Linked DNA regions of Homo sapiens: region 2 is linked to region 1. The links are contacts of gene promoters, found by promoter capture Hi-C in human tissues and cell types (Jung and others, 2019). All regions are on one chromosome and are shown on one strand. Each heading gives the region's core, a stretch centred on a gene start or on the middle of the fragment in contact. The rest is flanking DNA. Distances are from core to core; before and after follow the strand shown.

Evidence for each region. The method cuts DNA at HindIII sites, captures the fragments that hold promoters and counts their contacts. A contact is called where the count stands out against the background at its distance.
Region 2: a contact is called between a fragment that was not itself captured here and the fragment with the promoter of FAT1 in region 1, in 1 of the 25 tissues and cell types used here (mesendoderm cells).

What each region holds. Positions count from the first base shown.
Region 1 is chr4:186,721,221-186,727,683 of GRCh38, forward strand. It overlaps FAT1 (FAT atypical cadherin 1), which reads right to left and starts at 2,636. Exons shown (of 27, transcript NM_005245.4): 1 at 2,444-2,636. RefSeq lists enhancers at 2,077-2,578, 3,079-4,078, 5,261-5,762. The HindIII fragment of the contact is 8,530 bases long and covers 85-6,463 here.
Region 2 is chr4:187,232,812-187,239,274 of GRCh38, forward strand. All of the region lies in intron 1 of LOC107986335 (a long non-coding RNA gene), which reads right to left. Among named protein-coding and RNA genes, the nearest start is that of LINC02374, 34 kb to the left of the region's middle. The HindIII fragment of the contact is 4,020 bases long and covers 1,102-5,121 here.

The DNA of each region.
Region 1 (6,463 bases), core at 1,386-3,885:
ATTTAAATCTGGGACTTACAGTAAAAGATGACTTAAAAAACTTAAAAGAGTGAAATATGCAGATTCCTCATCAGAATATATTTTTGAAATGAAAAGTTCCCCTCAGGTATGAGAAAATGGCAACTTCCTGATCTTAACTGATGTATATCACTCATTTCAAAAACTCTTCTCCAGTGTCTAAGGATAAATAAGCACTTGCAAACTGAACAATTAAGTGAGACCAAAAGATAGAGTTTGGCTTCAACTTCTACATAATTTGGTCAAAAGAACAATTATCTAGCGCAAATCCCACTCATAAAGATTAAACAGCACATCCAGCCTTACGGCTCCCTGCTATTAAATCAGGTCCTTTAGGCTACAAATTATGCCACTGAGACAGAATCTAATGCAATAATAATGTACTAATTTGATTTGGCTGATTGATTCTACGTAAAATCAGCCAAACTTGGGTGGAAAGCAAGCGGGTAAAGTGTTAAAACATAATCTCTAAGATCCTATCCACCTCTAACATTCAAAGAAACGACTGCTTCAAAGGGACCTCAAAGCAAAGTCTAAAGGCAATGGAAAGGTAGAGGATGATCAGGGGAATGAAAACAGAATTAGTTTGTGCATAATTTTTAAAGATTTTTCTTCTCTTCTTTTTCTTTTCTTTTTTTTCCCCAGGCTGAATTGCAATGGCACGATCTCGGCTTACCACAACCTCCGCCTCCCGGGTTGAAGCGATTCTCCTGCCTCAGCCTCCCAAGTAGCTGGGATTACAGGCATGCACCACCACACTCCGCTAATTTTGTATTTTTAGTAGAGACGGGGTTTCTCCATGTTGGTCAGGTTGGTCTCGGACCCCCGACCTCCGGTGATCCGCCCGCCTCGACCTCCCATAGGGCTGGGTTTACAGGCGTGAGGCACTACGCCCGGCCATAATTTTTAAACATTTTTCTGTTGGCACCTGTCCGGACCATGGATTTAAATGATCTACTAACATGATGAGAACCCAACGGGGATACTTCAAAAGAGACAAATGAATATACAGGTGGCCCGAAATGATTTTATAAAGTCCTCTAACAACCACACTTCTTTCCAGAGTGCCAAAGAATTTGGCTCATTTAAGGTGTTCATTTTTCAAAAAATGGTTATACAAATGCAAACTTCATTCAAATCAAACCTTACCTTGAGCTTGTTAAATGCCATGTTTAGCATCACTCAAGGCTTATACCAATTGTTGTTTTAAAAAATTACATAGTGCTTTAAGTATTTTTACATCTTAAATACAAAGGAATAATTCTAACTGTGGAATCAGAGCTGTCTTCCTAAGACAAAAAGACAAAGACAAATATCACAATTAACTATTAACTGGAGAAACACCTTTTCAAACGTCCCTGTAACAACTGGATGTGTTGGACAGCATAACCAAACTCATTAAGAATAGTGTGAAAAACATCACCATTACCTAGTTCTCACACACAGATACCTTCTTAAACTATCGAAACCTGTATCTGAATATACGAAGCATTAAGAATCTGCTTTTGAAAAGGAAATGAATATCTGAAGGTCATTTTCTTTTCAATCTTTTCTCATACTAATAATCACTGTTAATATCCACTTTTAAAAAATCGCCTCTATCAGGCACCCGGGAATTGCTTAACAAAAGCCACTTAATGAAACCACAGTTCAGACAAAAAAAAAAACTTAACTGCATAGAAAATATTTATGAGTTTACTTTCCTAACTCATACAATTGCGTCCTTGTTTCCAAAGCCTTGCAATTCACATCAGCGGGAACAAAAAAATCTAACACACAGCAGAAAGCTGGCTCTCTAAAAGAAAGCATTTTTTTTTAAAGGCAATGAAGGACCAAAAACTCTTTCTTTTAAAAAGATCTTAGAAGTTCCTCCTCCAGAGAAGACAGAAAACACTGACAAACCGCACATTGTGCAGATGTTCAGCCCCGAAATGCAGCCTCGCAGCCCTTCACTCCGCAGTCCACCGGTTGCATCTGCACCTCCGGGCAGCGCTCCTGCAGGGCGCAAACACCCAGAGACCCAGGGACCCGGCAGCCCCGCGCAGGCCTCCCGCGTGCACCGCTCAGCGAGCGGGTCTTTCGCAGACGGCGGGATGCCCCAGGAGACCGCGAGGCCGGCGCAGCCCGGCGAGCTCCCGGAGGGAAGGCGGCGTGTCAGAAAGGATCGGACCCCAGCAATGGCCCCGGATCGGTCCCGCGCGGTCGCCTCCTTTTCCCGCTCCGCCGCCGGGACCCCCCTAGCCAGTGCTGAATTTCCCAACTGGGAAGGACCGAGTCACTCCACCCTCCGGGAAGTCGCGCGCTCATCCGTTTTCGGCAGCGCCGGAGCCCGAGCCGGGGACCGGGCGGACACCCACAGAGTCCGCACCGCAGCGCGCTGCACGCTCTCGCCCCCGCCCGCCGGCCCGCGCCCCAGCGAACTAACCGCAAAGTTGGCCCGAAGTGGCGACGGCGCTCTCGTGGAGCTCACCCGCCGTCTCAGCGCGCCCCCGAGCAGGGACCGGGCCTGCCGGGGCCCTCGCCGGGCTCGCGCGTCCGCATGGTACCTGCCGCACGAGCCGCTCCCGCGCCCTCTCCCCGCGCCCGGCCGCCCAGCTCGGCGCCGGCGCCTCACGCTCCCCGAGCGCAGGAGATCCCTCCGCCCCGGCCCCGCCCGCCGGCGCCGGCGCTCATTTCTCGGGCGCGGAAACTCGAGCCCACTTTCCCCGGCTGCCGGCTCTGGGACCGCGGGCTCGGCCACGCAGTCCCGCCCGGACCCAAAGAGCCCCAGTCCCTGCGAACACCAGGTCCGTGCTGGGAGACGAGAAGGCGCCCAGCGGGGTCTAGCGCGGCTCCGAGGGGCAGGGCGAGGCTTGTGATGCCGAGGTTAGTTACGGCCAGCCACAGGCGCTGTGCAAGGAATTGGGGAAAGCTCCCTGCCAAGAAAGGGAAACGTTAGCTTAGCTAAAAAAAAAAAAAAAAAAAAAAGGCTGGGGCCTAATGAGAAAGCTTCCCAGAGGCATCCCTTTAGCTTTTCCATAGCCTTCTGGGAGCCCCTGAATCTGCATTTGAATGGCGCGGCTCTGGGTCCGCGAAGGTTTGGTGGGCTGAAGTCGTCCTTCAGGTCTCCAAAGGAATGCAGCTAGGTCGGAATCTACTTCCTCCTTCAATCCCCAGAAAATGGAAACGCTTCCCCCGCGACCTTTTTCTGCCGAGTTAGACCCCAGGCCCTCCCCGCCGCGGGCGCCTGGCCTCCCCCGCTGACACCCCGGACGCCCAGGCCTGTGGGACAAAAGGCAGTCGCGGCGTCCCGCGGGCTTCCTAGCCCGGGAGTCGGCCCCAGGGGCCCCAAAGCGTGACCCCAGGCCGACAACTGCAAGTTCCTAGGCAGAGGGGAAGCCCCAGCGCCGAGAAGCCCGCTCCGAGAACTCCCCGCGCCGGGCGCCCAGCCTGAGCGTCCCGGGCGCGGAGCCCATCCCCGGTGCGGGCAGGGCTCCAGCCGCAGGCTCGGCGCAGGGCGGACTCGGCCGAAGCCCGGAGGGCCGGAGGCGCTGGGACGCAGCCCGGACAAGAGGGCGGACTTGATCTCGGAAAGTTTGTGGGACTCAGGCATTTTAACACTGGGAAGACAAAGAGATCCGATTTCCCTGGGACTGGTGAGGGGAGCTTGGCGGGGAGGGGAACGGCAGGGCAGTCAAGTGTGAAAGAGAATTTCCTGGGTTCAAAGTTAACGCAGTCACCTTATAAGCCATCTTAGAGGTGACCGGAAAAAATAATAATAATAAAGGTGTCTAGCAGGTTGTGGCTGGGAAGGAAAAATAATGCCTGCAAGATGAGTGTGCCGATTCGTAGCCCTATATTCCCTGCCCACCAGTTGGAATACACATAGATTCACACATCCAGCAAATGCAAACTCCATCATCCAAAGACGTGTTTGTCCCGGCCATAATTGCTCCAAGTGCTTACAGGTCAATTTCATACATGGAACACCTCGAAAGTGGGTGACCTGATCTCCAAGCCCAACCGGCTTGTGCCGCTTGCCGAATTGTAAATCTCAGCAAAACCCAAACACACCGGAACTCCAGCCGTTTCCTGGGAGCGAGGAAGCGGGAGTAATGCTAAAAGGGGAAAAGAAGAACAGTAAAAAAAGTACAAAGATACCATTCCCTGACGTAAAATCACGGGATTTTTTTTAAATGGCACAAGAGAATTCCTGGAGAAGATTACCATTAATTAATAAGTAATAACGCTTCCTAGGGCTTACTAGATGTTTTACATCTGTCTGGGAATCCCGATTTTCCAGGCTCCCTGAGAAATCTATCTGCCTGGAAGAAGTTGCACTTCGTCGCCACAGGAGCCGCCGAGAGCCAGGGATGGAGATTTCAGACTTAGGACTCTGCCACGATTCTACTGATCCTTAAGCGCCAACAGAACGAAATGGACATGCCTATTAGCTACCACAAATCGAATTATTTTATATGAGAGAGAGAAATGTGGTTCAAGTTCCACATTTGTCCTTTAAATAATCGACCCTCCCTAACCCTGTCCCCAAAGGCTCGTGGAAATTAGGGAGGGGGTTGGGGAGACGGTTCCAGAAACAAAACGCTTTCCTCCAGCACGGCCTCTACATCCAGTCCACCCAAGCTGATTTTTGTAACTCATATAAAGAATGGGCCCGGGTGGGTGGTCAGTGAAGACTGGGGTGAGCAAGCGCCCACGTCGCCGAGCGCCGGGGAGGTCCAGGTTCGCCTCCGCACAGAACCCTGCAAGGAGCGCGCCTCGCCAGGTGCCCGGACTAGAGGGCGCTGCGCCCCTGCAAATCTCGCGGCCCCGATGCGCCCTCCCTAGGCACCATTGCTATAATAAGTTACATTCAAAATAATGCACAAACAGCATCGCCTCTCAAGTTCTTTTTAACAGTGCTCTATATGTATTTTATGAACTCCCAAAGCTATGCATACGAATCTTTCATCGCCGATCCGCACAAAGCCAGAGGGATGCGCAGCTCCTGGAGCCGAGAACCCGTAGGGCGCACACGCTTCCCCGCACTCGCTTAGAGCCACACACCCCACGTAATTTCATTAACGTTTAAACTTAAATGCCAAAAGGCATGCACGATTTGAACAAAGAACTCACCAGTCTAGCCGAGTCCTCGGCCCTGGGCTCTAAAGTCCTCGGCAGCTCCGTGATCCCCTCGCGGTGTAGATATGTGTTAAGAGCCGGGTTTGAAGTACCAACTTTGCCTCCCCGGGATCTTCAGCATGTCCCTAACCAGAGTGCCAACGTCCGTGCCGCCGGGACCCAGGCGGCCGCATCTCCGGAGGCTTCCGACCAGGGCAAACTTAAGCACCAAACGCAGGCGAAAAGAGAGTGCGCGGGGCCGGAACGAGGGCCCGGGAGCAGCCAAGTTTGTCAGGACGTGCCCAGGCAGCCAGCCGCCGAGTTGAGGAGTTGCGGCCGCCGGCTGCGGCGACTCGCTGCCTCTTTCCCCACTCCCTCCCCCTTGGAGGCGGTGGGGGAGGGGAGGTGACGTCAGCGCCCCGCCTCGCCCCCCGCCCCGGGCGCGGACGGGATTCTCCGGCTGGGCGCGCCACCCCGACAGTGGCAGCAGCGGCCGTGGAGGCTGCGGGGGTCCCGGCCTCTGCGGTCTCTCTGGCCGGCCGCAGCTGTGGCGCGGGTGAAACGCCCGCCCTCCTCCTTCGGCTGCGTCTCCCGGGCGCCGGCGAGCGCGGGCGTTCCTCGCACTCAGCGCCTGGAGCCGCCTGGAGCCCCGCTGCGCGCACTTCCCCGGCTCGCGGAGCCCCTCCGGCGGCGTTTCCCACGCCGCGGACTGCAGGTGATGCTCTTCCTCTTCTGCAGCCGAAATTCGTCGCGATGTGTCGCCTGCCAGATTTTTGCTGGGCGGAAGCATGAACAGTCTCTGCAGACTGGCCTGGACGACTTGTACTTTGTGGCCCTCCAACTTCTGGATGTGAATTTTTTTTCACGACTTATTATTATGCTCTTCGTGGTCTTTGTGTTGAAAATCACGGAGCTGTATTTTTATTTTCAAATTCTTTCCCAATGCTCCTCTTGTCTTGACCGTACTCTGAAGCTTATAAGGTTCTGAGAGGAGGGGGCGAAGGGATAGGGGAGGAGCCAGTTCCTAATGTGTCTTACAAGTCATCCCTAGTGATAGGGGCTAATACGCAAATCACTGTCTCCTCCTCGAAATAATATCCATTTAGATAAATGCAAACACTGTTGAGGTTTAATTTATAAAGAATGCGTCGTCTTTATGTAAGTGTCCAGCCTCCAGGAAAATATCTGCTGTGGAATATATTTTTAATGCCACTAAAGTACCAAAATACCTCCCCGAACAGCGTGAAATTCCGAGGGAGCCATTTCTGTGAGTTGACATTGTCCCCAGAAGATTGTCATTAACATTCAAGATCCTTGCAAAAGGGGGCTGGGGGCGGTTCTATCA
Region 2 (6,463 bases), core at 1,862-4,361, 510 kb after region 1:
AAGCAGAAATTAAGAAACTGATGGTAAAAGCTCTTGGATAGTTTGGCTCAAACTTGAGTGATAAATGGACAATTTAGAAGGAATTCACCCAGACATCTTCCACACATGAAGGTACCCCAGTGGCTTTTTCACTGCTCTCATTCTTCTCTTTATCAGTGTTAAACAGCTTATCACGTGCATCTCAGCTCTAAAGTGCTTGCGCACTTCCTCCAGCCTTTTCCAAAGCATTTCTACACTCTCTTTACCTTAAAGCAATGAGAAAACCCAAAACAATCTACACAGCACTGGGATTGATATGGTTTGGCTGTGTCCCCACCCAAATTTCAACTTGAATTGTACCTCCCAGAATTTCCCCATGTTGTGAGAGGGACCCAGAGGGAGGTATTTGAATCATGGGGGCCGGTCTTTCCCATGCTATTCTCGTGATAGTGAATAAGTCTCGTGAGATTTGATGGGTTTATCCGGGGTTTCCTCTTTCACTCATTTTCTCTTGCTGCTGCCTGTAAAGAGTGCCTTTCACCCCCTGCCATGATTCTGAGGCCTCCCCAGCCATGTGGTACTGTAAGTCCAATTAAACCTCTTTTCCTTCCCAGTCTTGGGTATGTCTTTATCAGCTGCGTGAAAACAGAGTAACACAGAGATTAACAATGTGGTTTAACAAGTTTGCTGTATAATGCTTAGAAATTCCATACAAAATAAACTATTTACAATGGCAGCAAAAATATGTGGCATAGGAATAAATGTAAAAGCGACATCACATATTTTTGCTGCCACTGTAAATAGTATATTTTGTATGCAATTTCTATTTTGGAATATTATAAAACATTAGCTGAAAAATATCAAAGAAGACTTAAATAAATAGAAAGTTATACCATTTCATTGGCAGGGAGAACTCAGTATCATACATTTGTCAGTTTTCCCAAAATTGATCCAGAGATTATTGACATTTCCAAGAAGAATTCTAAAATAGGTTGTCATCAAACTAAATAAGCAGATTAAAATATAGATATAGAAAAGCAAAGGGCATGAATGTCCAGTCACACCTGAAGAAGGAGATTAGGTCAGGAAGACGTCCCCTATGAAAGACAATGCTTATTAAAAAGCTGTAGTTGTGATATAGTGGATATTAATTCAAGAAAAGCCAAATAGTTGAATGCAATGAATAAAGAATCTAGAAACAAAGACACATGTGTGTAAAAATATAGATGCATGACAGAAATGAAACTGTAAATTGGTGGATTGGTTTTGGAGCAGTTAGCTAAAAATCCATTCCAGACTGATCAAAAAATTAAATAATAAGGAACACTAACAAATGTTAAAGACCACATATGATAATATATTTATGACTTGGTGGTGGCAACATGATTGTCAAATAAGAACAAAATGCACTAGCCGTAAAGGAAATATGGTTAAATTTTATCACATTAAAATTAGGACTTCATGTTCATCATAACACACAAAAAGAGAGTGAGAAAACAAGCAAACTATGACACAAGACCAGCAACACATACTAGTGATAAAAGTCAGGGTCCAGAATATATAAACTTGAATATATATAGAAACAAACAGCTCGACGGAAAATTGTGCAAAAATATGAACAGGTAGCTTACAAAAGTGCAATCATGAATTACTAATACATCTATGAAAAAAAATGTTGTTAAATCCCACTAGAAATCATGAGGATGAAGGTAAAAATCACAGTTAGCTGCCATTTGACACCAACAGACTGGGAAAACAAATTTAAATCTGATAGTACAAATGTTCAGAAGATTGTGACTCCCATTAATCAGCGGTCTTTGGGGCTTTACCTAGTAATGGTAAACACGTACGTTACCTATAAACACAGAAATTCCACTCCTTGGCATATAAGCTAAAGAAACTCTTGCCTATATGCACCAAGAGATATATACAACAATGTTTGTAGCTGCATTTTCACAAAAGCAAAACTTGGAAACAATTTGGTGTTTTCTAAAACCAGAATAAACAAATGAAAGTCACATATTTAAACATGTATGCATCTCAAAAACATAATACTGAGCAGTAAAAGAAAATCACATGCGCACAAATACACATTTATATTTGGTAAGATTTATTATTATAAAAGCTAAAATTAGGCAAAACTAAATATTGTTCAGGAATATTAATATTTTCATATAAGTATTGATAAATTCAACATAATAAAATACCAAAGCTATTGATAATGTACAATGGTGGCTAAATGGGTAGTAGCCTTTTTATCATTCTTACATATTATCCGTTATATATAGTTGGCATATATTTTAAAACAACAATATGAAATAACGTGATGAAAAAATTAACGAAGCTACAACATGAATCCCTTTTTGAGCAAGTTGTAAAAAGAGATCTGGGAGAGTTTCTCCTCTCTGTATCTAAAAGTACCATCTCATCTATATTTAAGACGTCGAATATAGACTCATGCAGTTTTGGTTTAACTCTTTAAAAACGGCTTTCAACAGGGTTTCATGCTCCCTTAATTGCTTGTTGTTAAAAAAAAACCTATTTTCTCTGATGTCTTATTTTAATTTTTATAAACCAGTTTAGTTTAAAAAACAGTGAGTTACTCTAGCATTTACACTTGATTTGCTTTTTAAAAATACCTTCTAATTAAGAAAAAAATCATAGTTTAATATAGAGTCATTAGGACAGGTGGGGGTGGGCGGCGAGGGGGTGGCTGGACTTCCTCGGGAGCGCAGATCTGTGTCCTCGCGGAGATCATCGTTCTGCACAGAGGAAGTCTGTGACGTGCGCTGCCACCCGTTGCTCCTGGCAGCAGTGAGGAAAACCAGCTTAGGGAGGCCCGGGGAGCACAGCAGAATGGCAAGCAGACTGCCAGCCAGAGGGACACTGTTCAGTACAAACTTGTTGACTCGGGGCACAGTCTGGACAGGCCGTGTGACAGCCTTGTGTTTCAATTACTCCAGCCCAAGGAGGCAGGAAAAAGGACCATCTAATTGAGAAACAGGCATTGTATCTAAATTGAGATTTCCAAGGGTGCATCCTTGTTAAAAAGGAGAACTCATGGTTAGGTGCAGCCTGCCCTGCAAAGCCTGGGTCACTGAGCATCAGCAAGCTTATTTTTAAATCATCTTTTTTTTTTTTTATGATGACACCTCCGACTGGAAATCATTGACTTGGCAGAATAGCAAGTCACACATTAAGCAACAAGCGAAATACACTAATCGTAGCTTGACTGTTTTGTAAAGAATTTCACAGCACAAAAAGTTAATATCATTGATTTGGAGGAAGTATGTAGGGGAAACCCATATGTAGTGAGTATACTAATTGTGACAGCTCTTTTAAAAGCAGGCAGAAGGCATTATTGCTGAGGCAGCTTGAGGAGCTGTTTGTCATTTTAAAAAAGCATGGAAGCCACAAAAAAGAGTTGGGCAAGGCTTGGGAGAACTGAGGAATTATGAGAATAAAAAACAAAAACCGGTAAAAATTCTCTTCCATTTCATTTGAGGAGCTCGGAATTCAATGCTTTCTCTTAGATAATGAGAGAGAGCAGTTAGAGGCAGACGGAAACAGCACGAAGTGCTCATTACTTTTAAATGTGCAATTTAAATACTCAAGTGTATCCATGGAAAAAAAGATTTAAATAGCAAGCTTCATTACTATTTGCTCCTAGAAGACAATGATCTCTGCAGATTGCCCCATTCTGTTGAAGTCAACATGGAGATGAATAGCAATTTTGCAGTTTGAGAAGAAGAGGGGTATGTGGGAAAACTGAAATGTGAACAAAACAACAGTTGGGCCTTTTTCCATTGTTTATGGGTGCTTTGGGAATTCTCTGCAGCTTTATCTTTCATGATGGCTTAATAAGTAAAAATACAGGACATAGTCTACATGTTTGAGACATGATTCACAGAATGGTACTAATTCACCTAAGGGCCTCTGCCTGGCTTAGTCCACATAGCACATCTAAGCATCTGGAATCACAATGGCAATCTTCCCAAAGGCCAAGGGCTTTAGTTATTTTGCTGGTTATGTACATAGACCAGCATAAACTATGCAGCCATCTGTATTTTTCTGTACCAAGACTGAGTAAAATGAATTTATAATTTTGAAAGTGTTCATCCTTGATGACCCCTTCACGCTAATTTTTATTCTTTTCAAACAACTGTAGGGTCTGGGATGCCCGGAACTCTGTTCACTCCAAATGTCCCATCCATCCTCATTTGCCTGGTTGCCCACAGCTTTGCCATCTCAGTATGTTCCCCACACAACGCCATGGGCAATTTGTAAGATCGCTAGCAGAGCAGGCTCTTGAACCACGCTGCCTAGGTTAAAATATCCACTCCCAGCTTGCTGTGTGGAATGTTGGGCAAATAACTTAGGTTCTCTGTGCTTTCTTTCCTGGCTTCTGAAATTTACCGAAGAGTAATAATACATTCCCATTCAGTTACTGTGAGGGAGAACAGAGCTCAGCACACTGGCATGCAATAGGTGCTCAGTAAGCGTTATATGTAGTCATCCACACCACGCATCACTACTGTGACTGTGTTCCACCCTGAATCAAATCACTTTCTCTGTCAGCACCAACTCCTTCGACTGGGGTGAGTGTCAGCAGCGAGTGACATGCAGAGCCACACCAGGGCCCACAGCGTTTCCCAGAGAGGAGAGGTAATCCACAGGGGAGGTTCAGAATATGGAGCCTCCTAAGATAGCATCCGTAATGTCGCAACCTTGGGGATATCAGAAGAATGGCAGGTGATTTTTTTTTTTTTTTTTGAGACGGGGTCTTGCTCTGTCACCCAGGCTGGAGTGTAGTGGTGCCATCTCGGCTCACTGCAACCTCTGCCTCCCGGATTCAAGCCGATTCTCCTGCCTCAGCCTCCCGAGTAGGGACTACAGGCGCCCGCCACCACGCCCGGCTAATTTTTTTTTTTTTTTTTTTGTATTTTTGGTAGAGATGGGTTTTCACCATGATATTTTACTGAAACTACCAAGGGGGGAAATTGAATAACAGAGAACTCCAGAGTGTGCATTATCACAAAGGGCAACTTCAGGTAGAAGTCTCACTGATGTTCCTGGAGCCTGGGGATCTTGGTCATCAAGGAAAAGCTGCACAAAAAAAAGACAGGGTAAAAGGACTTCTGATTTTGCCAGAAGAGCAGCCAATGTTATGTAAAGAAAGACAGTTGAACCCTTAGGTTATTTTAGGTCATAAAAAAAGACTTGATTAAAACACATATTGTAGAGAAAATTTATAAAAATTTTAAGGATGCCAGTTCATGTGTGGACATAAGCTAATGAACTGGCTGGGGCAAAACCACTGGATTTTTGATGATATTCTAAGGAAGATGGCTTGATTCCTGGAAATGAAATTTATTAATAGAAGAGATTACCAGGCCTAAGGCATATATGCTATTTTATATTAATTTTTAAAGAACTGAGTTAGGATGTATTTTACATCCTAATAGGAATTGTAAATAAAAAATAACTGTTTGACAATTATGCAGAAATGGTTTTGTATTCAGTCTTGTTGTCTGTCATTGTCATCATACTCTTCCAAGGGTATATATTTTTGTGCAACTTACAGTCCAAAGGCAGGAAAGAACCCACAAGGCCTTTGCTTCCACTTAGATGGAGTTAGAAGTTGTTTCCATAAGGTGATAAGAGAGGGAATTTAGTTCTCATTATTTCACCTGCCCCTACACCCTCCATTCATCCAGATAGAAAGCCTTTTGATAGAATTACTCATTGCCCTTCTAGATATTTAGGTAGCTTCTTTAAAAATACAATTCATTAGATGGGCAGTGGAAGTTGACCAAAATATTCAGGGACCTATCATAGTAAGTATTGATTTATGAGAGCACTTTTCTCCTGACAGGGGGTGCTAGGGAAGCATGGAGAACAGGAGACCAACTCCATGGGGGAAAGATGAAGAGCAATGGTGTTTTTGAGCATGGGCCCTGAATTAAGTAAGACATATGTTCAATTTCTAATGTTGACACTTACTAGCTGTGTAAATGGCCTTGGGCAAGTTCATGGTACAAGCTAAGCCTCATATTTCTTCATCTAAAACAACAGGGATTTTAGTTTCTGTTGTATTATGAAATAGATATTAATAATAATTATTGAGCAATTAGTGAAACTGTTCATAACCAGACTGACTGTAGGCAAGTATGAACTCTAACAGATTAACTATGTGTACAGCATAGAGACACACAAGTGGATAATGTGAAGATAGAGGAAAGGACATATGCATTCGAATTTCAATTTGAATTTCACAGCGGTAGTCAAATAATACCTACCATCACCAGAAGCATAAGAAGTCCCCATGCAGAGCTGTGGTTTTCTAGCCCTTCTTCACGCTTCCCCATAGCCTTGATGGGCTAGATGCTGGCCATGGTTACCATGCACTCACCTGGCGAGGGCTTTGTTATAGCTTCATGAGTCTCAGAAGTTGGACCTGCTGGCTTTAGAGTCCGACTAATTT